4 separate regions of the Homo sapiens genome follow, and all the other regions are linked to region 1. The links are contacts of gene promoters, found by promoter capture Hi-C in human tissues and cell types (Jung and others, 2019). All regions are on one chromosome and are shown on one strand. The core of a region is centred on a gene start or on the middle of the fragment in contact, and the rest is flanking DNA. Distances in the headings are between cores, read along the strand shown.

The links. Contacts are between HindIII fragments. The study calls those that stand out against the background at their distance.
Region 2: a fragment that was not itself captured here is called in contact with the fragment with the promoter of CLRN1 in region 1 in 3 of the 25 tissues and cell types used here (IMR-90 fibroblasts, neural progenitor cells and small bowel).
Region 3: a fragment that was not itself captured here is called in contact with the fragment with the promoter of CLRN1 in region 1 in 2 of the 25 tissues and cell types used here (small bowel and stomach).
Region 4: a fragment that was not itself captured here is called in contact with the fragment with the promoter of CLRN1 in region 1 in 2 of the 25 tissues and cell types used here (aorta and psoas muscle).

Annotation. Positions count from the first base shown.
Region 1 is chr3:150,970,097-150,975,763 of GRCh38, forward strand. CLRN1 (clarin 1) reads right to left here and starts at 2,631. Exons shown (of 3, transcript NM_174878.3): 1 at 2,360-2,631. The coding sequence starts at 2,612. CLRN1-AS1 (CLRN1 antisense RNA 1) reads left to right here and starts at 2,582. Exons shown (of 6, transcript NR_024066.2): 1 at 2,582-2,997. The HindIII fragment of the contact is 11,205 bases long and covers 1-5,667 here.
Region 2 is chr3:150,929,827-150,934,981 of GRCh38, forward strand. All of the region lies in intron 2 of CLRN1 (clarin 1), which reads right to left. Among named protein-coding and RNA genes, the nearest start is that of MINDY4B, 27 kb to the left of the region's middle. The HindIII fragment of the contact is 6,636 bases long and covers 24-5,155 here.
Region 3 is chr3:151,010,028-151,015,615 of GRCh38, forward strand. The region is part of intron 1 of CLRN1-AS1 (CLRN1 antisense RNA 1); the gene reads left to right. Among named protein-coding and RNA genes, the nearest start is that of CLRN1, 40 kb to the left of the region's middle. The HindIII fragment of the contact is 4,220 bases long and covers 287-4,506 here.
Region 4 is chr3:151,026,980-151,031,936 of GRCh38, forward strand. All of the region lies in intron 1 of CLRN1-AS1 (CLRN1 antisense RNA 1), which reads left to right. Among named protein-coding and RNA genes, the nearest start is that of MED12L, 56 kb to the right of the region's middle. The HindIII fragment of the contact is 8,714 bases long and covers 1-4,957 here.

The DNA.
Region 1 (5,667 bases), core at 1,381-3,880:
AGAAACAGAAAAGAGTCATCCACCTGAGCTCTCTGGAGGTCCCTGCTTTTTGCTCCAAGGAAGCCACTACTGAGAAAGTAAGGTTAGATCTTTTATTCATTTATATGAACAGGGCTTATACATTTCTATCAGGAAGAATATCAGAGGATTCTCATCCAAGCAAACGTTGATGAAACATCATTGACAGGGTAATGACATTCTGAATGGAAAAAACGTGAACCACAAAGCTGCGTTGCAATGGGAGTGTAAACTTTGAGGGTGCAATGTGTCCCAAAGGCATGTTGATTAGAAAGTTTTAACACTGAGAGGGGTGTTTATTTAAATGAATATTATCCTCTTTGGGGAGTCCATTGGATCTATTTATTTTGGTTTTCCCAACTCTGTCTCATGCTGCATTGAAAAAGATACTTTTATGCTTAGGAAAAAAAAAAAAGCTCTACTGTAAGTATTCTTAGCTGGGCCTCACCAAAATGAATGAGATTTTTAACATGTATAGTATATACAGTACACTTAATATGTATAGTCTATTGTATATTGATGGAGCTGTCACTGCAGAATGAACAAGTAAATGGAAGATTTTCTTCACTAGGCTAGGGGGAGAATGTCAGGGGTATCTGGGAGCTAATGAAATTCTGTGAGATAAGTGAGGGTACTGTTTAAACCCCACCAGTTCTGCAAGTCCTCACAGAAAGCAAAAGGAGGGGCACCCAATTAGAACAACTTCATCCTTAGACAGGACAAGCATAGGACACAACCACAAAAATCATTCGCTAAACCCCAGAAGAATGTGGCTGTGTAAGGATTAAATGAGACAAAGCATATAAAGTGCTTAGTATGTAGTAAGTGTTCAGAAAACATCTTATTATTGTTTTGAAACATGTCCTATGGCATGAGTAAAGTTTATCTCCATTTCACTGTAGAAAATGTAAAGGCTCCAGAAAATTCACCAGTACCTTCTCCGCTTTTGTCTAAATTCATCTGTGAGAAGCTTTACTCACGCTTTGGCTGCCGGTGACTCACGGTTAAATCATCTCTCTCAACTTTTTTCCTTTTCGGTTTTTTAATACAGTTGCATATCACATGACATTCTGCTTTGTTTTCTTCCTTCCCCTTCCCCAGGAAAACTAAGCAACTCTAACAGCCCCATTACCTTAATGAATAAAAGCCATTCAGTGAAAAGAACTGGTATCCACTTCATCAATTAAAAAGCTAACAACCAATTCTTGGAAATTTTCTGGAGCCCTATGAAAATTCATATCACTTAGTAACCTATGTGAGCTGAAGGTTGGTGTCCAATGACTGCTAAGAAGATATAAGGAATGTTGCAGAAATATAAATAGACCAGCACTGAAATTTAATTAGGCACTGCATATGTTAATAATAAATTCAATTAATTTAGCCTTCTACCTATACTAGAAAGAAAAAAAAAACCTGGGCAAAATAATAATTCATTTTAAATGCTTCAGTTGGTAACCTCCTTTCCTGAAGAGTGATTTATGCAGTAATTTACTGACTGTGTCTTCATAAGGTTGTTCCAAACCAGCCCTTCTGAAATAATAATAACTTCTGAATGTGTGTTGTAAGAGATATAACAAATGACTTCCTATTAATTTTCATTTAATGAGTTGCCTATTCACATGGTAATTTTTAAAAATTCTCTTCTTAAGATAAACAGGTTATAAATACTGTGGATTACACTTCCATTTCACAAAAATCACAACAAGAAAATCTCTCTCATATTCTCTACATGATTTGCAGGTCAATCAGTTTAAAATGTTCTATACTAAATAGGCATCCATTTCTTTCCCAGTTAGCACAGCAGATCATTTTAAATTTCTATAGCCAAATGATTCCAAATTAGTTAAAAATGAAAACTGAATATTTAGCAGCAGGAAAGGTCTTAGCAGGAATAATGGGAGGGAGTGGGGAGCAGGAAACAAAATCATGAGAAAGGTGGCAACCTGGTTAAATACGGAGCCCATGACCTTGGTTCTTTTTATAAAGAACAAAAAGCATAAAGATCATTCTTTACAGCTTTCCTATTTCCCCAAGTTTACTTTTTTAAAAAGACTCCATAATTTTTTACATAAATATTAATACTTAAGCATCTTAATTGCCAATATTTCCAAAAACCTTAATTATGTAACAATGAATTAACTCTATATTATAATAAAAAGCAAGTATAAAATAATAAAAACTAGGAAGAAGAAATTGCTCAGAGTCATAGGTTTTTCATATGGTTCACACCGATTTAAAAAGTCCTGCAGTAAACACGGCAAAATTCTCAAATATAATTCCTCGCAACACTGGGAAGAGTCTGCCTAAAGCATTAAATAACTCAAATGCAATTGCTACTTACATGAGAACCGAAAGGGCCTTGCTCCCAACCCACACTGCCTCACACCCTCTCCGTGGAAAAGCCCGTACTGCATTTCACCCATAAACTTGTCCAGCTCCTGCCCTGAGGCATTGACGAGCAGAGCTCCCGTTTTGCAGAGGACAGTGGCTTTGATCCACAACGGTGTCCCCAAGGCTGTCACAACTCCGAGGGCACATGCAAAACTGAACACTCCGGCCATGCAAAAAATGATTTTCTTCTGTTGGCTTGGCATGATGAGAAACGGCTTCTGTGAGGGCGAGGTTCAAAAACAAGACCTTTGTGAGCAATGGGAAGGGACTGCCTCTTTGACTGCATTTATTACGGAAGCTGAACGGACAGCTCCCAGCTGAAAAGGCAACTTCACCATCGACGGTTCTCGCCAGGTTAAATGTCAGTAGATGAAGGCCTCATCATCACTCATACTTGGCTTTTCTCCTTTTCTGCTGCTTCTTCTCCCTAATTGGAAATCTTTGGACTAAGAATCTGTAAAACAAGTCTTTCAAACTGCCTTCAAGTATCTCCTCTGTGTCACTTGGTAACAAAGGTCGAAGATAACAGATGGAGTCCTCAGTGTAACTTGATAAATGTTTCCCTTCCTCAGCCTTTTGTCTGATTGGGTGAGTTGAAACTTTCAGAAACAGGCTTGAATCTGATGGTACATTTTCAGCAACTTGAGAAGTTCACTTATCGATGTTTTTATTTTTGTTTTTTGTTTGTTATTGTTTTTGGTGGTGGGGGAAGGAGCTTTAGCAGAGGTAGGGAGAACATATGTACCTGTATTGATAGTTGATGTCAAAAATTTTTAATTACAGCAGGATAAAAATATTAAACAGAATTTGGTCCTACACGAATATTAAGTGCTCTGGATCAACCATGGGTCCTTGTCCTTCCAACTTAATTTCTCCCAGATCCATGGTTTATACCTAATGTATCAATAGAGAATTTGATTCAAATTTTTCTTGGCATACAGAAATATGAAAATGCAGGAGCAGATATCTAGATTTCTAAATGCTTTCCTTTAACAGGCTTAGCTGCTTTAGGATAATAGCAAGGGAATGTGTTTCTGGGTCCAAGGAATACCAGGATCTGTAAAGATAAGGGCATATTGATGGAAAGAGGGATGGTGGTCAGATAGGTGACTCTATGGATTCATCATAAAAATGCACAGGTCTCAGCAAAGGTAATCTGTTTGGGAGACTAGAGACAGTTATGAGCAAAGATTAAGCAGCAGGTAGGTCTGGTTAAACGGTCAAGACCTGGAAACTAAAGTTCAGAATTCAGTAACAGCTTTTTAACTTTGCATTTCCAATGAGATTCCTCCTTCTACAGACACAGGACTGTGTGTGTGTGTGTGTGTGTGTGTGTGTGTGTGTGTGTGTGTGTGAAGTGTCTAGTGAATGTTTATTATATGCCATGTTATTGTCCTGAGCTCTGACCTACAAAGTTAATGTTTAGTAAGAACTTATGTCTGGCAACTTGTGAAGTATTCTACCTAAATTATCATATGTAATTCTCATAATTAGCATATAAAGTAATGAAGAAGAGGAAGAAGAAGAGGAGGGAGGAGGAGAAGAAGGAGGAGGAGGAGGAGAAAGGAAGAAGGAAGAAGAATAAGAAAGAAGAAAGAAGAAGAAAAAGCAATTATTCGTATCTTATATATAAGGGAATTGAGGCTCAGAGAGTTTAAGCAACTTGCTGAAGAGAGTAGTGGAGCTGGGATTCAAATCCAGGTCTTCTACTTCTGAGGTTGATGTTCTATTCCAAGCAAAGCCCCTGACCTTGAAAAGATGGCAAACATTTCAGTTTGGGTTGGGTTCGTCTAGGAGTAACAGGGGCAGACTAGCCCATTATTAGTTACACATATTGAGTGTTTGAAGAACACAGACATCAGTAAATAGAACTTTTTCAGTTGGCCAAAAGCACATGTGTATGCTAGCTTCTATTCTTTTGATCCACCTTTAAGCATGACAGCTTAGAGGAAATTAATAAATGAAGACTTATTTCACACCATTTTCAGCATAAATGAGTCTCTACATTATGCACACTTCGAAGGGAACTTTGAGGTATAGACTCGGAGTACTGGTAAACTTCTCTCACAGCTCGCCTCTCCTAGGAGTCGCAACAGCCAGTCTCGTTAAGGACAGACAACTAAGTATAGAACTCATTCTAGAATGCCAATGTACCTTCGGGGAGAAGAGGGGCAATATAAAACATGGCCACAGAAGAACTGGGCATATAGAAGATTCCAAAGAGGCACTTAAAATAAAGTTTACAATATTAGTAAGTCTTTTTTATTTTGTATAACTTAACACAGAATAAGCAACTCATCCCAGTTTATTTGGCCTTCCAATGAATTCACCACTGGATTTAGAATAATTGCTAGAACACAGAATAAGCAACTCATCTCAGTTTATTTGGCCCTCCAATGAATTCACCACTGGATTTAGAATAATCGCTATCATGGTCCACTAGCAAAACAAGGGGGTGCCAGTGCCCCTGATAAGTGGTTATTTGGGCATATATGTGCCACAGTCACCCTAGAAAACTTAGTTTAAGATGTCTAAGCAGAGCTGAGCTTACTAAATCAACATATTCTGTAATTGGAAGAGACAGAACATTTCCAAAGCCTGGGAGAAGAAATCACCTACAACTTAATCAATACTATTAATAACCTCTACTAAAGGATATGGCAAGAGAAGGATAGTTAGCATAGGACAGCGGTTTAATTAACCCAAACTCAGCCAAGTATATCTAAAGCTGTCCAAGGAGGAAAGCCTTGATTATGGGTGTAGAGAGCAATTAGATCACATCAGTTGCATCAGTTTGCATCAGTCTGTAGCGACATGTTCACTCGTCTGTAGAGACATGGGAAAAATAAATACAACATACTGAGTTACTCTTATATCCTGAAGTTAGGCCCTTCCTAATTTTTATTGTTGAAATTTTCTTTCTTTAATGAGATAATGGTAGTTGAATTTTTAATGATTTTATTTGACAAATTTAGAAACTGGCAAACCTATGTCTACTCCTGATTTAAAACAAAACCAAATCAAACCCACTGCTCTATGACATAAAAGATCCCTGAGTGGAAAGGGTGAGACTCACCCTTTGAGGCCTAAAACCTCACCCTTTGCTTTGACACGGTGGTTCTCAGTTTTGCTGCTCATTAGAATCACTTGAGAAGATTTTAAAAGTACTGATGTCTGTGTCCTCATCCCTGAGATTCAGATTTATTTGATTTTAGAGTATGGCCTTAGCGTCGAATCACCCCAGGTGATTGCATTGTG
Region 2 (5,155 bases), core at 2,092-4,591, 40 kb before region 1:
GCAACACAAAAGAATGTATTACAGTGTCTTTTTTTTCTCCAAATACTCTCCCACTAATTTTATGTCTCCTTTAGGACAGGTAAATGCTTTTTACTCTTCAGTTAAAGTTAATCCAAATATCCTAGGAGTGGCAACATAATGGCTTGAGTTTCTATTCATTAATTCACTCATTCATTTATTCTCTAGACTTATATGGGGGATAGTTGTGGAGATTTAAACATTAAAGATAATACTCATGATTTTTGCTCTCATGGAGTATAATTTGGCAGAGGACATAAAATCAATTACTAACCAATTACAGTGCATGTAATCAAGGGATAGTAGAGGGGCTGTTACTGAGAGGGTGGGCAGCATTATGGAAGGTTCCTTAGAAGTAGCCAGAAGGAGCTATAGGAAAAGTTAGCTGAGCAGAGGGAGGCTGGACTGTGGGGGGAGAGTACTGCAGGCAGGAGGAGCTACGGTGCAAGTGACAGCCCCCATTCCTTTCCCAAAGGTCAGGCTGGGTTTGGGGTAGAGGCAGAGATTTGGGGGTAGGAATGAGGGGAGAGGTGAGCAGAAAAGACAACATCACATTTCTTCTACTTTAGAATTTCACATAGGACTGGCCAATCAGCTTAATCATCATCAAATAATCAAATAATATAATTTTCTTGAAATTTCACTTTCTACCATCCTCAGAGTGGTAGCTGAGAATATTCCTTTGTAAAATTTTGTCAGCCTATTTTTGTATTCTGAGCTTAAAACCAGAGCTCTCCCCTGGCAAAACCGTATTATTTCTTTATTGTTAGATCCTAACAAAAAGGCTGCAGTGCTGTTTTCTCTTTATCTTTTATTCGAAAATTGTGGAGAAAATGCCATTCCTTTTACCATAAGAGCCTTCTTTGTCTGAGGAGATGGTGAATTTCAGACAGAAGTGAAACATTATTTCCTGAGCACCTGAAAGGAAAATTCAAGCTCGGTTTCCTTTTCAAGTTGTTAAATATTTCAAAGGTACTGCTTTGTTAAGGAGACAGCATTACAGCAAGGCTGTATTTCAAATTCCTAAAGTAAAAGTTACTTGGGGTGTCATAAGACTCAAAGCCTTTTGCCATAGCTAATATTTCAAGCACACAGCCCCCAAAACAAAGTGTGCTGTCTGGTAGTAGAGAGGACAGTCTGAGATCTTGCTCTGGATTCTAGGGTTGATCACGAGGTCAACGTTGTCGTTTCAGGGACAGAGGATAGAAACCCAGCCTGAGTCTCATAACCTTTCAGTGACTGCTAAGAGATATGAAGGGAGACAACTCAGTGTGAACTTGGTATATTTTTGCTTCTCTCTGTCCATGGCTCTAAAAAAGACATGGGATCAAGGATAACTATTTATGACTTATGGACCAAAAGATATGCATGAAGAGTTTCTCTTTGTGGCATGGCTGCTAAGGCTATAAAAGAAGTGTGTAAGTGATATGAGTGATGTGAGAATAAGACTCAACCTACACTCTTCCAGTATGACCCTTTGAATCCAGCAAGAGGGGCTCCTGCTTTGTGCCCCACATTTAGAGGGTTCTGCTCTGTCTCTCTTCTGGAGAGGTTCCTTCCCACAGCATGAGGAATCCTTGAAGTCAATAGAACATACCCATCTGGCATGCCTGACTCACATTTTAGTCCATACTCCTGGGACCCCGGAATTGACTTCGTAAATAGCCCTGAGCCCATTTTCAAGACCTATGTGGTCATTTCTCCTGGGTCATTCCTCCCATGGTCAGAGGGTGGCTGAGGAATAGCTGTTTCAAGAGGCATGGTCAGAGCTTGGATACATGGTGCAATGTCCACACACCTATGCTTGAGGCTCTTTACTGTGTGCAGTGGAGCCAGGCAGGGGAAGAGAAGTGGGTTTTCATTCATACTCTTGCCCAAGACTTCACAAACGGTAGGATCAGTCCTACATGTCTCTCTCCTCTTTTTCCCAGTTATCCATGTACACCAAGAGCCCAAATTCACACGGTGCCAGTTGGACAGATTCCTTATGTGTCTGTCTATCTGACCAACACTGCTCCTGCTCCCAAGAAAGGTTAGAATAAGCCAGGACTGTGGAAATCCTGCCAAACCTTGCTGGAGCTATAATGTGGAGTATAACCAGGCACAAGGCCCAGGTTTTGCTGCCCAGTGTCTTACTCAATGACCTACAGCCATTTTTCCTTTCATCTGTCTGATTTCCCCACCATCTGTCTGGTACTGTAGGTTTTTTTTTTCTTCCTTTTAATGACTTTGATTACTGAGTTAATTTCTGACTGAATAGGATAGCTGAGTTATAGGGCTGTCACACCATGAATGATCAGTCAATTAACAAACGTTTGTAATGTGCTAGACACTGCACATTCATGACTCTCCTCTGACAGCTGTCTGAGACTGCAGAATTGAGCACTGGTCTCCTCCAGTCCTTACTATATGGGGAACGTAGGACATGGCCAATGAGGGTTGCTTCTTCATCCCTGAATGACTCTGAGGGCACCTGTGCTTTTATGAGTGGGAACTCCCTGCCAGGATCTGTGGGAGTCCAGAGGTCCTATGGGTTTGGCTCCTCGAAGGGGAAGAAATCTCTGAAATGTTATGAAATGTTATCCTATGATCAGTAAGATCATATTTTTGGAAATAATAAACTGGAATTTCAATTCCATTTAAAGTAATGATCAGCATTTTCAGAAAGCTTTCAACACATCATCTTCAATTGTCTTATAGGTGACAGATATTAGGGGCATTTCATTGCCAATATAGAATGATAAATTGATAATTTCCTTTTCAAGGAATATTGAGAGATGATAAATAGGTGTGGGAAAGCCACAACTTTACAAGTGTAGGTGTTAATTTTCTCTAAAATTATGTAAATGTCACTAGAAAGTTAGTAATTGAAAGTAAGGTCACCAGCAATGATTTCTTCCCCAAATAGAAGTTGTTCTGACTCTACACTGCTCCAGAGACCGATGGCTACCATCTAAAAAGGGACAGAGGGACAAGTGAAGTGAGTTAATACCAAAGGGTAGATTTTGAGATTGTGATGGCAAGCAATTTGGTCATGTGTTTCCAAAGGATAGATGTAGATGAAGGAATAACACCATTGGGTCTAGCCTTTTCACTTTATCTTCTGTAATGGAAAGTTGAAGAGCCCATATCTAACCTAAGTTTTACAAATGTTATATTATTGAGAAGGATGATTAATGCAAAGAAGAAATGGTCTAAAAATACAATGTTTATCTAATTTGAATTTATTTTCGGAAATATGTCTGAAAATATGACATTTTCAGAAGAATATCATTTGTTACCAGAAAATATGCAGCTACTTCTGTTTTATTCACTTATTCAACAACTATTTATTGAGTGCCTGTTGCGCTGTTGTGGGAACTGGGGGTACAGCACTAAATGAAACAGGTACAAATCCTTTTCTTCACAGAGCTCTCAGTGATGGAGACAATGGAAAGGGAGAGAGAGGCAATAACTTGATAAGTACATTCAATGGTTTATCAGAGTGTGATATATATTAAGGAGAATAAAATAAAGCAGAGAGGGGGGATAGGAAGGCTGGGGAGGGATGGCCAGGGGAGGCCTCATAGGGAATATAACATTTAAGTGTATCTTGAGAGAAGTGAGGGAGTGAGAAGGTAGATATTTGGAGGAAGATTATTTCAGGCTGAAGGAAGAGTGAATGCAAAGGAAGTAGGTGGTTTGAGTGAAGAGGGGAGGAAGGTAAGGGATAGAAAGAGGTGAGCTGTCTGTGTGTGTTTCTGAAGTGGATACATCAAGTGGTGCTTTGGAGGTCAAAGCAAGGACTTGGGTTGTGACTGTAAATGAAACAGAAGAGAAGACGTACATTCTGAGTAGGATAAGAATCTCTTTGCAACTGTGATAGAAAATGATTAAGCATTTCCTTGCACAAGGTCATAGCTGGGCCATGTACAAAATAAATGAAACACAGTCCTCCTACCACACCCTGGACATGAATGACCTGGAATGTGATTCCTCACAACACTGCCCCTTTAGCCACTGCCCTGCATATGAGAATGAAATTCTTTGCCCATTGCCAACATCAGCTGTCTAACATTACTTCTCTTTTCCTTCTGTGGCCTCTTTTCTAAGTTCTATGCTGAGAAACTAGCAGAATACATTCATTACTGGGTTTTCCTGCCACAAATCCTTTATTCTTCCTCAGGCTCTGCGGCTTTGATGACTGGACATCCCTGTGTCTCTTTCTCGAACTCCTGAAAAACAGCTCCTTCATAAGGATTGGCGTAGAGATAAGATGCAGATTTTTTTTCACCACCAATTACAGAATAATGTGCCCCAGACATATTTCAGAGTCCAGGGTATTATTCATACTGAAACTGATATATAATGTAACTGTTCTGTTTTTGAACTGTTCTTTATTTTATTGTCTTTGTGTATATGAATGTGCTTATGTTCCATGCCATAGCTGTAATTATCATAATTAATTAGGCCCATACTAGGAGCGTCCTCTTTTTAAAGAAAGGCAGCAATTTTGTTTGCCCTGCTTGGCATAACTCATAGCAGACACTATATGTAAGAGAAGGCATAACTCATGACGCTATGTGTAAGAGAAGCTATATGTAAGAAAGCCTATATATAAGAGAATAATTATAATCATTGCAAATGGTAACAAATACAATTTGCAATAAGTCCACATTTTGGTGGTTTTTATCACCTCCAAAAGGCCTGAACCAATACCTTTCATGTCATTCTCAGAGAGTATTCACAGAACTGCTAGGATGTTCTACCACTGATCCATGTCAAGTCTGCCAGCTGGCCTACTCCCTTTTACATGCAGATCTAGGTAAGACCCTCTCCCATCAACTGGGAAACACCTAGAATGGAATATATAAAAGGCCCCCACTCAAATATCACTGCCGCAACTAAAAACTATGAATCTAATTGCTTCTATACTCAGCTCCCTCTTTTTTGGTTCTCTCTCTTCCTCTACCTCCTTAAGTTCTCTCTCTCTCTTTCTCTTTCTCTCTCTCTGTCTCTCTCTTCCACTGTATTATAAATCTTGAGGGAAGCTTTTTCACCCCCTTTTCCCTATTCTGCCTTCTCCTGCCCGCACCTCTATTACAGGAGGCCACCTTTACACAAAGCTCACTGCTGATGGTAATCTTGAAACATTCCC
Region 3 (5,588 bases), core at 1,147-3,646, 40 kb after region 1:
TTACAATCATGGCAGAAGGTGAGGGGATAACAGGCGCTTCTCATGGCGAGAGAGGGGGGAGGTGCAACACCCTTTTAAACGACCAGCTCTCTGGGTGAACCTAGAGGAAGAAGTCACTCATTACCATGGGGATGGCCCCAAGCCATTCATGAGGAATCCGCCCCATGACCCAAACACCTCCCACTAGGCCCACCTCCAATACTGGGGATCATATTACCTTGCCTCATCAACTCTGACTTCTGTCCTTAAATACAGTTCTGTATCTCTCATTGTCCACAGAACACATGTGCCATGTGTCATCACATCATGGAGTCTCTTGACTCAACATGACCCAACTAAAATATGCATAACTCCTCTTCCCAACACTGCCACCACCACCAACTTGTTCCTGGTGTCCCTGCTTCCTTCACAGCTATCTGGTCACCATGAAGTGATGAATATGAAGGAAAGGTTAAGAGCACTGCTGAGATGTGGCACCTCATGGCCATGCCCCTGAACCACAGTCAGCAACGACTTTCCTCCAGACTTCTACTGATTGGATAGAAGTAAAAAGGATAATTTGAGCCAGTGTAAGCTTGGCATTCTGTTTCTTGCACTCAAATGTATTCAAAACTGGTATCCCAATTCTGATCAACTTCAGAGGCAGTGTTCTTCCTGGTTTAGCCCACTGAGACTTATTACCAGTATTTAGAACACTTCTCAGTACATGGCCGACACTCAAATATATGTTAAATGAATAAATGAATGAATAACTAAATTCAACATCAAAGCATTAAAAAATGTTAACCATTAAAAACATCGTGAGTAGATTCTATTCACAACAGCAAAGTCATGGAACCAATCTAAATGTCCATCAGCAGTTGACTGAATAAAGAAAATGTGATATATATAAAATGAAATACCATGCAGCCATAAAAAGGAATGAAGTCATGTCCTTTCCAGCAACATGGACAGAGGTTGAGGCCATTATCCTAAGTGAAATAACTCAGAAACAGAAAATCAAATACTGCATTTTCTCACTTATAAGCAGGAGCCAAACAATGGATACACATGGATATACAGAGGGAAATGATAAAACTGGGAAAACCGGGGACTCCAAAAGTGGAGAAGGTGGGAGGAGGGTGAGGGTTGAAAAATTACCTATCGGGTACAGTGTTCACTGTTTGGGTGATGGGTACACTAGAAGCCCAAACCTCACAATTACACAATATATCCATGTAACGAACCTGCACGTCTACCTTTCAAATCTATAAAAATAAAAAATAAAAAATAGAGTAGGTTCAAAGTTTAATTTTATGTTTCCTAGAGAACACCTATGAGATTTCTAGTGTGCTAAATTTAAATGTAAATAATCATAGAGTTTTTTAAAAAAACATGTAGAAGCCCTGATGAATACATTTTGATTAGACTAATACTTTTTTAAAGGCAGCACAGTTCCAGCTACAATAGGCTAGGAATTTTCTGGTCTGTCACAGTGGATTGTTAGGATTGGGTCTAAACCACTTTTGTAAGCCCAGGGGTTACTAATCAGCACTTGTTTTCCTGGCCCTGGTTGTTAACTGCTCATTTGGCAAAACGCCACATGGTTAATCACGTCCTGGCTTCCTAAATCTCTATGTTTTTAACAAGAGCCTTCATTTCCTGGGCTAAGCTGCTCCAAAGTGTTCGATAACTGAGGCGTAAAGGCTGAGTTTTCAAAGGGATGAGATATTTCCTGAACAGGTGACCAGAAAAGTATAGCTGTCAGTTGCATCTCATGTGTTTTAGTAATCAGATTTTGATTTAAAAAAAAAAAAAAGAGGCTTTGCTGAGGAGTTGTAGATTTGAAAAGTTAAAGCTTCATGTTTTCTCAGTCACTTGTATCAGTGATTGTCAAAGTCTGTTTCAGGGAGACTGTCAATGTTTGTGGTTGCTGATGCCAACCTAGGGCAGTAAAATAGATTTCAAACTTGTGTTTATCAAAAATATTCTTACTATTCTCCTTGGTAAACCTAATAATAAGGAAATGTAAATTTATGTTTTAAAATTTCTGCTAAGGAATATTGGTTTATCGGTTGCATACTTTAGGTTTCCAGTGAGGTTTTATTTTTTTAAGAGCTCTTATATTAAAACAGTTGAAAAACACTGAGAGATCAACACAATAGAGGATGCTTGTTTAGGGAAAAATAACATCCCCTGCCTTTGAAGGAGGTTTTAAGAGTTAAATAAATAATTTATGTGAGAGCATCTAGCACAGTGCTTGGCACAAAAGTTAATAAAGTTTGTTGGAAGAAAGGAAAGAAAGGGTGGGAAGAAGGGACAAGTTAGTGACTTAGTTGTAAGCTGGCATGCCAGATGTCTCTGGTTCCTCCAGATTCACTTGTCACTCTTCTCCACTTTGTTCTTCACTGGGGCAGGGGAGGAGGGTGCTGACTTATATGGACAGGCCACAAGGACCCCCTTGCCTTCTGGCCTCCAGTTTGCTTTGAACAATAGGAATCCCTTGTGGGAGCCTAGAAGGCATGAGGAGGAGGTGAGGGTGTCCACGCACCTGGCCCCTCCCTTAGGCTGGTGACAAAGCTTGGTGTTTCTCTCAAGGCAGCTTCCCCTACATACTCTCTTTCCAAGTTCTGGTAACAGCATTCTCCCCTTGTCTCTTTGGGGCTGGAGTGGTAACAGCCTCACTTCTACTAACTCCAGTTTACTGCCCTATCCCTTGTGTTTCCTTATATAATGCACAGTATTGTAAATAGATGCTTTGCAGTTGACCTCTTGAATTATTCTAAGTAGGGGTTTGCCATGTAGGGGTTGTCACTGTACCATGACGGATACAGTGATTGGCTGTGTATTTTTGGACCCTCTAGAAATAGTCTTTACCCTTTCCCCCTGTTTCCTATATCCTAGGAGGCAGGTATCTGCAGACCTCCTACTGGGTTTGGCCAATGGGTGCCACCGTCAGAAGATTAGAGGATGCGAGGAGAGAGGAATGGGTTATTTACCTCCTGCCAGGCTTGGCCATTGTGTTCCTCTACTTAAGACCACAGCTCCTGCCAGGAAGCCCCTCTCTCAGAGCTTAGCTTCCATCAGGTCCTTCATTTTGCCCTTCCAATTCTATGGATGGTACAGCTCCCCAGTGGGGCTCATTCCTGAGTGCTTCACTGTCGCTTGTTGGCTCCCGTGACTCTGCCCCATTTTTGTGAAACTACCCCCTCATTAAACTCTCCTCAGTTATTCCTGGAGTGTGTCATCTGCTCCCTGCCAGGACCCTGACTGATATAGCGGGTTTTAAGACCCTGACTGATATAGCGGGTTTTAAGACTTGTGGCATTATAATACAGATTACAGTTTTATTGATCACCAATGATTTGGTTTTTTTTTTAAGTTCTAGTAAAGTTATAAGATTGTTTAAATTCAGACAAGTAGCAAAGACAATGTTTTCCCATTTTTCCTTTTCCTATTTCAAAATAAGGAAAGTACATATAACAGATAAAACAACACATTAATTGGTCCCTTGTCCAACTCAGGTAGAGTGTGTAGTCAGGAAGGGGGCAAGATCGCAGCACAAGAATGTGAAAAACTTGCAACTGAATCATCAGGAACAGCATAATGTACTCAAAACATGTAGCAAACAGAATGGGAAATCTTCACCTATAGAATGTATCTATACTAAAGGACATCTCATAGATTTAAGCTCAAAGGAACATAATAGATACCATTTTGCTCTTGAAAATTCAGCAAGTCAACCATCTCCATGGAAGGAAATACAAATTTCTTAGTTTAGAACTTGGGAGACAGAGATGTGAGAAATAAAAATGAGTAAGAGAATACATCATGGTTCTGTGGTCCATGATTCCTAAGACACTTCAAGTGAGAAAACCTGTTCTGTATTTACTGACTTTCAGAGAACACCAGCCTGTCTTTCCTGATCACCATCACTTAACAAGTTAATGCAATGCAACAAATATTTATTGAGAGCCTACTCCGTGTGAGGCACTGAGTTAGGCACTGTGGCTACAAGCATGAATAAGCATGGCGAATGAATACACAATGAATTCAAATCAAAGCAGACTATGATAGGTACAGAAGTAGGCCTCACATACTATAAACACATGTGTCTTGGGAGCATGGAATTGGTTCTGTTGCATCTTTGTATCTAACATTAATTCCTTAGGCTGCAGTTTAAACACAGTTCCATTTCATTTCTGAGAAGAGATGGATAGCAGCTATTCAGTATCTTTCATGTAATTGCATCTCAAAGGGTAATTTAATGATGACTTCACCTCTCTGCTCTCAATCCTCCTGATAATCTGCCTTCATTATCCCAGTGTGGAGGTCCCAGGTCTTCTCTTCTACATGCATATTTCCCTGATCCAAAGGGACATCCAAAACTTTAAATTTGGGGGTACCTATGTTTCAGGGTGATAGAGGGAATTGTCAGAGTTCATGACAGCTCCCCATTGCAGGAGTGCTTCCTGGTCTTTTCACCTGTCAACACACAGGAAACAGTAATATTTTTAGGCACATACTGAGCTAAATGAAAGAGATTATTTGTGACTGAAAAATAACACTCCGGGGCTATGACGGTCCCAAGTTCTACCTGGTTATCCCAAGGTCTGAGAGGTCAGTATCTGTGTAGAGCATTTACTGCAGAGATAAGGAATTTCTGGCCTACAGGATAAAGTCCAAGCACCTCAAACTGGTATGGCAGGCAACACATCCAGACAGCAGTCTGGACGGGGGCCTTGTTACCTGGGTTTCTTCACTCTGAACACTAGACTCTTGGCTGTCTGCTCAGAATAGACATCTACATACAAAACAATATCCAGAGGAGTTGTCTAGCTAGGGAATTTATGAAGATGGCAAAGATGATGACTAAAGCCACACTTTGAACTGAGAACTCTACAAAGTTTATTATATATATGGTTACATCCAGCTACCCATCAAGGGGATATATAATAGCGTGCTATATTTGTCTCTAGTTGAGCCTTGCTAAGAAACTGGTAGTAAAATTTACCAGCCTTCTTCTGCGTATTTCTCACTATTTGATTCTTAGGTTCCTGTGCAGCAATGCTCACTTTTACCTCTGAGTTTTATGACTTTTGCAAATAATCCTTAGCTTCTGAAATTTAGCCTCAGGAATGATTGGTCTTGGGCAAATCTAAGGAACTTCTGGGGTATGCAGTACCCCTCTTGGATCTGCATTATTTGGAGCTACAATTGAAGAGCGGGGAGGGAAGAGTGGATTAAACATCTTTTGGCTTGAATTATTACTTTTTCTTTGGAGTGGGCTCTGAAAATAAGTGCCCTTTGCATAGATGCCTGGTTGCCATGTCGCTTCCTGGGTAACACATTAACCATCCCCTCTTGGTGATAACAGAACATTATTGCTCCATCATCACAAACCCAGTCAGGATGCTTACCAAGAGGTTACTGCTTATCTTTCTGTTTCTCTCTACTGCCTACCGTGCACCTTATTCTCCAGCCACAGCCATATTGTTAACTTTTCCTGCGCACATTTTTCATTTTTCAGCCTTCGTGTCCCTTCTGTCAAAAAACTAAACACAAGCCCTTTCCCAGTTTGATGTCCCGGTAGAGAGCTACTCATCAAG
Region 4 (4,957 bases), core at 1,166-3,665, 57 kb after region 1:
CCCAGGCTGAGCCAGTCGTCACTTACCAATGTTAGCTAGCTGACCCTCAGCCACCTGGCTTCTTGAACATACACACTTTATAGGAGCTTCTCTCACCCATTCTTCCCAACAAATTTAGATTTTTAAAACTTCTATTGGAATAAAACCTCTTTTAGAACCCGAATATAGTGAACTAGTGAGTAACTTTTGAGAAAACCTAAGGCATTGAAAAGAAAATTGGGCATTACAGAGAGCCATTTCTATTTCCTGGGAAAGATACTATCAACTTTCTTCACATTTCCTATAGAGATACAAATACATCCCACATTTTGCCTATGATTGTGTGAGAGCAGTTTGATCTCACTAACAAATACATCTCTGGCATTGGTAATTCTACAACAGGTAAAAATGTTGTGTTGAAAGTAAACCCACTAAAGCAAAATCAAGCAGTGAAAAGTTTAAAGAATAGTCCTTAAAACTTTGAGAGGCCAGGCATGGTGGCTCATGCCTGTAATCCCAGTGCCTTTGGAAGATGTGGTGAGAGGATTGCTTGAGGCCAAAAGTTTGAGATCAGCCTGGGCAATGTAGCAGGACCTTGTCTCTACGAAAAAAATAATTTTTTAGAAAATTAGCCAGGTGTGGTGCACACCTGTAGTCCTAGTTACTTGAGAGGCTAAGGCAGGAGGATTGCTGGAGCCCAGGAGTTCGAGGCTACAGTGAGCTATGATCATGCCACTGCACTCCAGCCTGGGTAACAGAGTGAGATCCTATCACTAAAAACAAACAAACAAACTGTGGTATCAGATCAGAGATATAAATTCTATTGCAGTGGCCTGAGCCCATCATGGTATATGCTGTGACATCTAGCCATCTAACACGGGATACAGAGATCCTTATGGAACTTTTCCTATAAAACCACACAAACTTGTTACTTCCTATATCAATCCTGAATATGTTTATTTTCACATAACCTGTTCCTTTAGCTCTTATCAGGCAAATGTCCTTTGTCCTCCCTCCGCCCCCACCAGGCCTTTCCTGTCACTTTCTCGTCTTGCCTCCAGTCCTTCTCATGTTACTGTCCCCTTGATGGAGCCATCTTGCTTCTGATTTGCCCCACAGCCTCTTTCCCTTATTTTGATATGCCCTCAGTTTCTACTTCTTTCATAGAACTTAAGCAGATGAAATAAAATTGGGAAATACAATTTCAGCAAGAATCACTCATATTTTTGCTTGACTCAAATTGTAAAAGGAAGAAACACAAGATGAAAAGATCTATCCCACCTTCAGTGCAAACTGGTTCCCTTTTTTTTTTTTTTTTTTTTTTTGAGATGGCATCTCACACTGTTGCACTGTTGTCCAGACTGGAATGCAGTAGTGCAATCCAGCCTTACTGCAGCCTCTGCCTCCCAGGTTCCAGCAATTCTCCTGCCTTAGCCTCCTAAGTATCTGGGATTACAGGCGCCCATCACCACATTTGGCTAACTTTTTGTATTTTTAGTAGAGATGGGGTTTCACCATGTTGGCCAGGCCGGTCTTGAGCTCCTAACCTCAAGTGATCTGCTTGTTTCAGCCCCCCAGAGTGCTGGGATTATAGACTTGAGCCACCACACCTGGCCTGGTTCCCTTTTTTTATTTTTTAAAATCAAAATTTAAGCAGGTAGAACATATATGCATAAAGGAAAATATATTGGCTTTGAAGTCAGCAGAACTGGATTTGAATCCTGGCCCAACCATTCACTAACTATGTGATCTTAGGCAAGTTGTATACCTCTCTGAAGCCAATTTTTCATATCTATAAAATAATACATAATATATTTCACCTATAAAATAATGTTATTACAATGGAAATATAACATTCTATCTCAAAAAGTGACTGCACAGTTGATCACTTAAGTCATATAATAAATGCTAGTTCCTTTCCCCTTCCTCTTCCTAATAAAGTTTGCACAGGAGAAAATTTCCCATAAGTTACCCAGTTTTTACTACTGTGCAGCCAAGTATTACTTTCTAGTCTGTTAAGCAGGAGTCACAGAATGCTAAAAGTGTTCACTTTATGGATGAGGAAACTGTGACCCGTAGGGGTGCAGTGATTTGCCCAAGGTCAAGCTACAGAAGACTAGGATGCAATCCCACAAGGCTTCCAGTTAATTCATGGAATATTTGTTGAAGATCTACCATACGTCACATGCCATGTTAGCCACCAGGAATGTAAAACTGGAAAAGGTATGGAGTTCAGAATCTTCTAGGAGAGATAAATACACCCAACAAACCATAATATGATGTGATGTGTGCTAATATCCCTCCCATTGAAGAAATTTAAAAGCCCAGGGCTGCATCCACACCAGAATATAAATGTGAAAATCAATTGCATCTGACCAAAGAGGCTGCAGAATGCTTCAGATTGAATCATAATGGAAGGAAAATGACACCGTACAAACTTTCTCCTAACCCTAAAGACTCATTCAGCTATTCACTTACTCCATCTCCAACAAACCTTTATAGAATACCTACTGTGTAGATCTCCTAACCCTAAAGCCTCATTCAGCTATTCACTTACTCTATCTCCAACAAATATTTATAGAAGACCTGCTATGTGCACAACACTATGCATGGAACCAGGGATATAAAGATAAACATAGTAAGATTGCTGCCTCAAAACTCAGTAGTTGAAGAAATGTAAGTTGACAGCTTTCTGGGCCATTAATGTATATACATTTTAAATAAATTTCAGGAATAATCTGAATTTAAATTCGATGCCTTAAAGCAGGTACTTAAAAAAAGTACTACAACTTGAACCTTATTACTTCAAATATCTATCTTCAATAGAGAGAAATGCTGTCCTTTGAAAGGCAGGAGGATTTAAAAGGTGATTCTTATAACTTGATCAGGATTTATATTTATTCTTTGGCTATCATGAATAAGTAGTTTGGATTGCCATGGTTGAGAATTGATTTCTAATGCATGTCAACATCATTGCAGTTGATTTTCAAATCCCAGATCCTTCTCTGACTCTGAAATAGAAATTGATAAACTTTATTTATATGTGTATAATGTTTTCACCAAGTCACACTAACGCAATTATTTCACCACTGTCGAAATGCAATAGCAAAGTTATCAAATTAATGTTACAACAAAATCAATACATATTAATGGGGTTTTCTTTGTTTTTCCTTGCATCTTCTAAACCATTTTTTCTTAAAATAAGTCAACCTCAAAAATGTGAGGGTGTTAGTGTCAGTACATAACAGAATTGATGGACTAATCAATTTTTTCTTTTTAGCATTATCTGTAGGACCTAGATAAACATCATTTATTCATTTTTATTTGGAACCAGCTTCATGGAACTTCTCTGAAGAGATGTGAGAGGCTGTTTTATTTGTAATAATGTCTTCTGGTAGTGGGTTGTGATGGTTAGTACTGAGTGTCAACTTGACTGGATTGAGGGATACAAAGTATTGATCCTAGGTATGTCTGTGAGGGTGTTGCCAAAAGAGATTAACATTTGAGTCAATGGGCTGGGGAAGGTAGATCCACCCTTAATCTGATGCGCACAATCTAATCAGCTTCCAGCAAATATAAAGCAGGCAGAAAAACGTGAAGAGGAGAGACAGGCCTAGCTTCCCAGCCTACATCTTTCTCCCATGCTGGATGCTTCCTGCCCTCAAACATCAGACTCCAATTCTTCAGTTGTGGGACTCAGACTGGCTGTCCTTGCTCCTCAGCTTGCAGACAGTCTATTGTGGAACCCTGTGATTGTGTAAGTTAATACTTAATAAACGCCCCTTTATATGTATTATATATCCTATATTATATAGGATATATATATAGGATATATATAGGATATATATAGGATATATATATAGGATATATATATAGGATATATATAGGATATATATATAGGATATATATATATTATATAGGATATATATAGGATATATAGGATATATATAGGATATATATTATATATAATATATATTATATATTATATATATAATATATATAGGATATATATATTATATATTATATATATAATATATATAGGATATATATATTATATATTATATAGGATATATAGATATATATCTATATATCTATACATATATACACACATATATTCATATTATATATCCTATATATCCATATATATGGGTATATATCATATATCATATATATCATATATATGGATGTATAGGATATATAGTATATATAAAGGGGAGTTTATTATATATATGATATGGATATATATGATATATATGGATATATATTTTATATGGATATATATCACATATATCATATATATGATATATATATGGATATATATCACATATATCATATATATGATATATATGGATATATATCACATATATCATATATATGATATATATATGGATATATGTCCTATTAGTTCTGTCCCTCTAAGAGAACCCTGACTAATACACAGGTATAGCATACAGGGAAAAGTGTTGCTTGCAAAGATTTATAATGACCTCAATTATAATACTTTGAAGAAAGGAAGTTGAGAGAATAATAAATATTTTGTTGATGCCTTTCCTCCAAGCCTTGTTAAGGTCTCTCTTCCCCAGAACATCTCTAGTCATGTGGTAAGTCAGAAAGAAGAAGGGCCTACGTTCTTTTATAAATTTCATTTTGCAACATCGAGAGATATACACTGGATGATAGAACTGTCAAAACAATTTATGACAGGAAAAACTCCTTTTAGATCACAATGTCTCCATACAATTTTTGTGCAGCCTAATCTGAAATTATCCATTCAAGTCATGATGCCTCTCTACCATAAAAAAGGATCACAGCACATCCTACACATGGATTTTAGACCATACAATGTTGATAGAAGAACTGGCATTTGTTAGAAATAATGTCTTTGTCTTTCCCAGGGAGGCTTGATTACAGGAAAACCTTTCTTAAATAAATCCTCCAGGGAATGGCAAAAATCATTTGCCCTACAGAAAAGATCTTT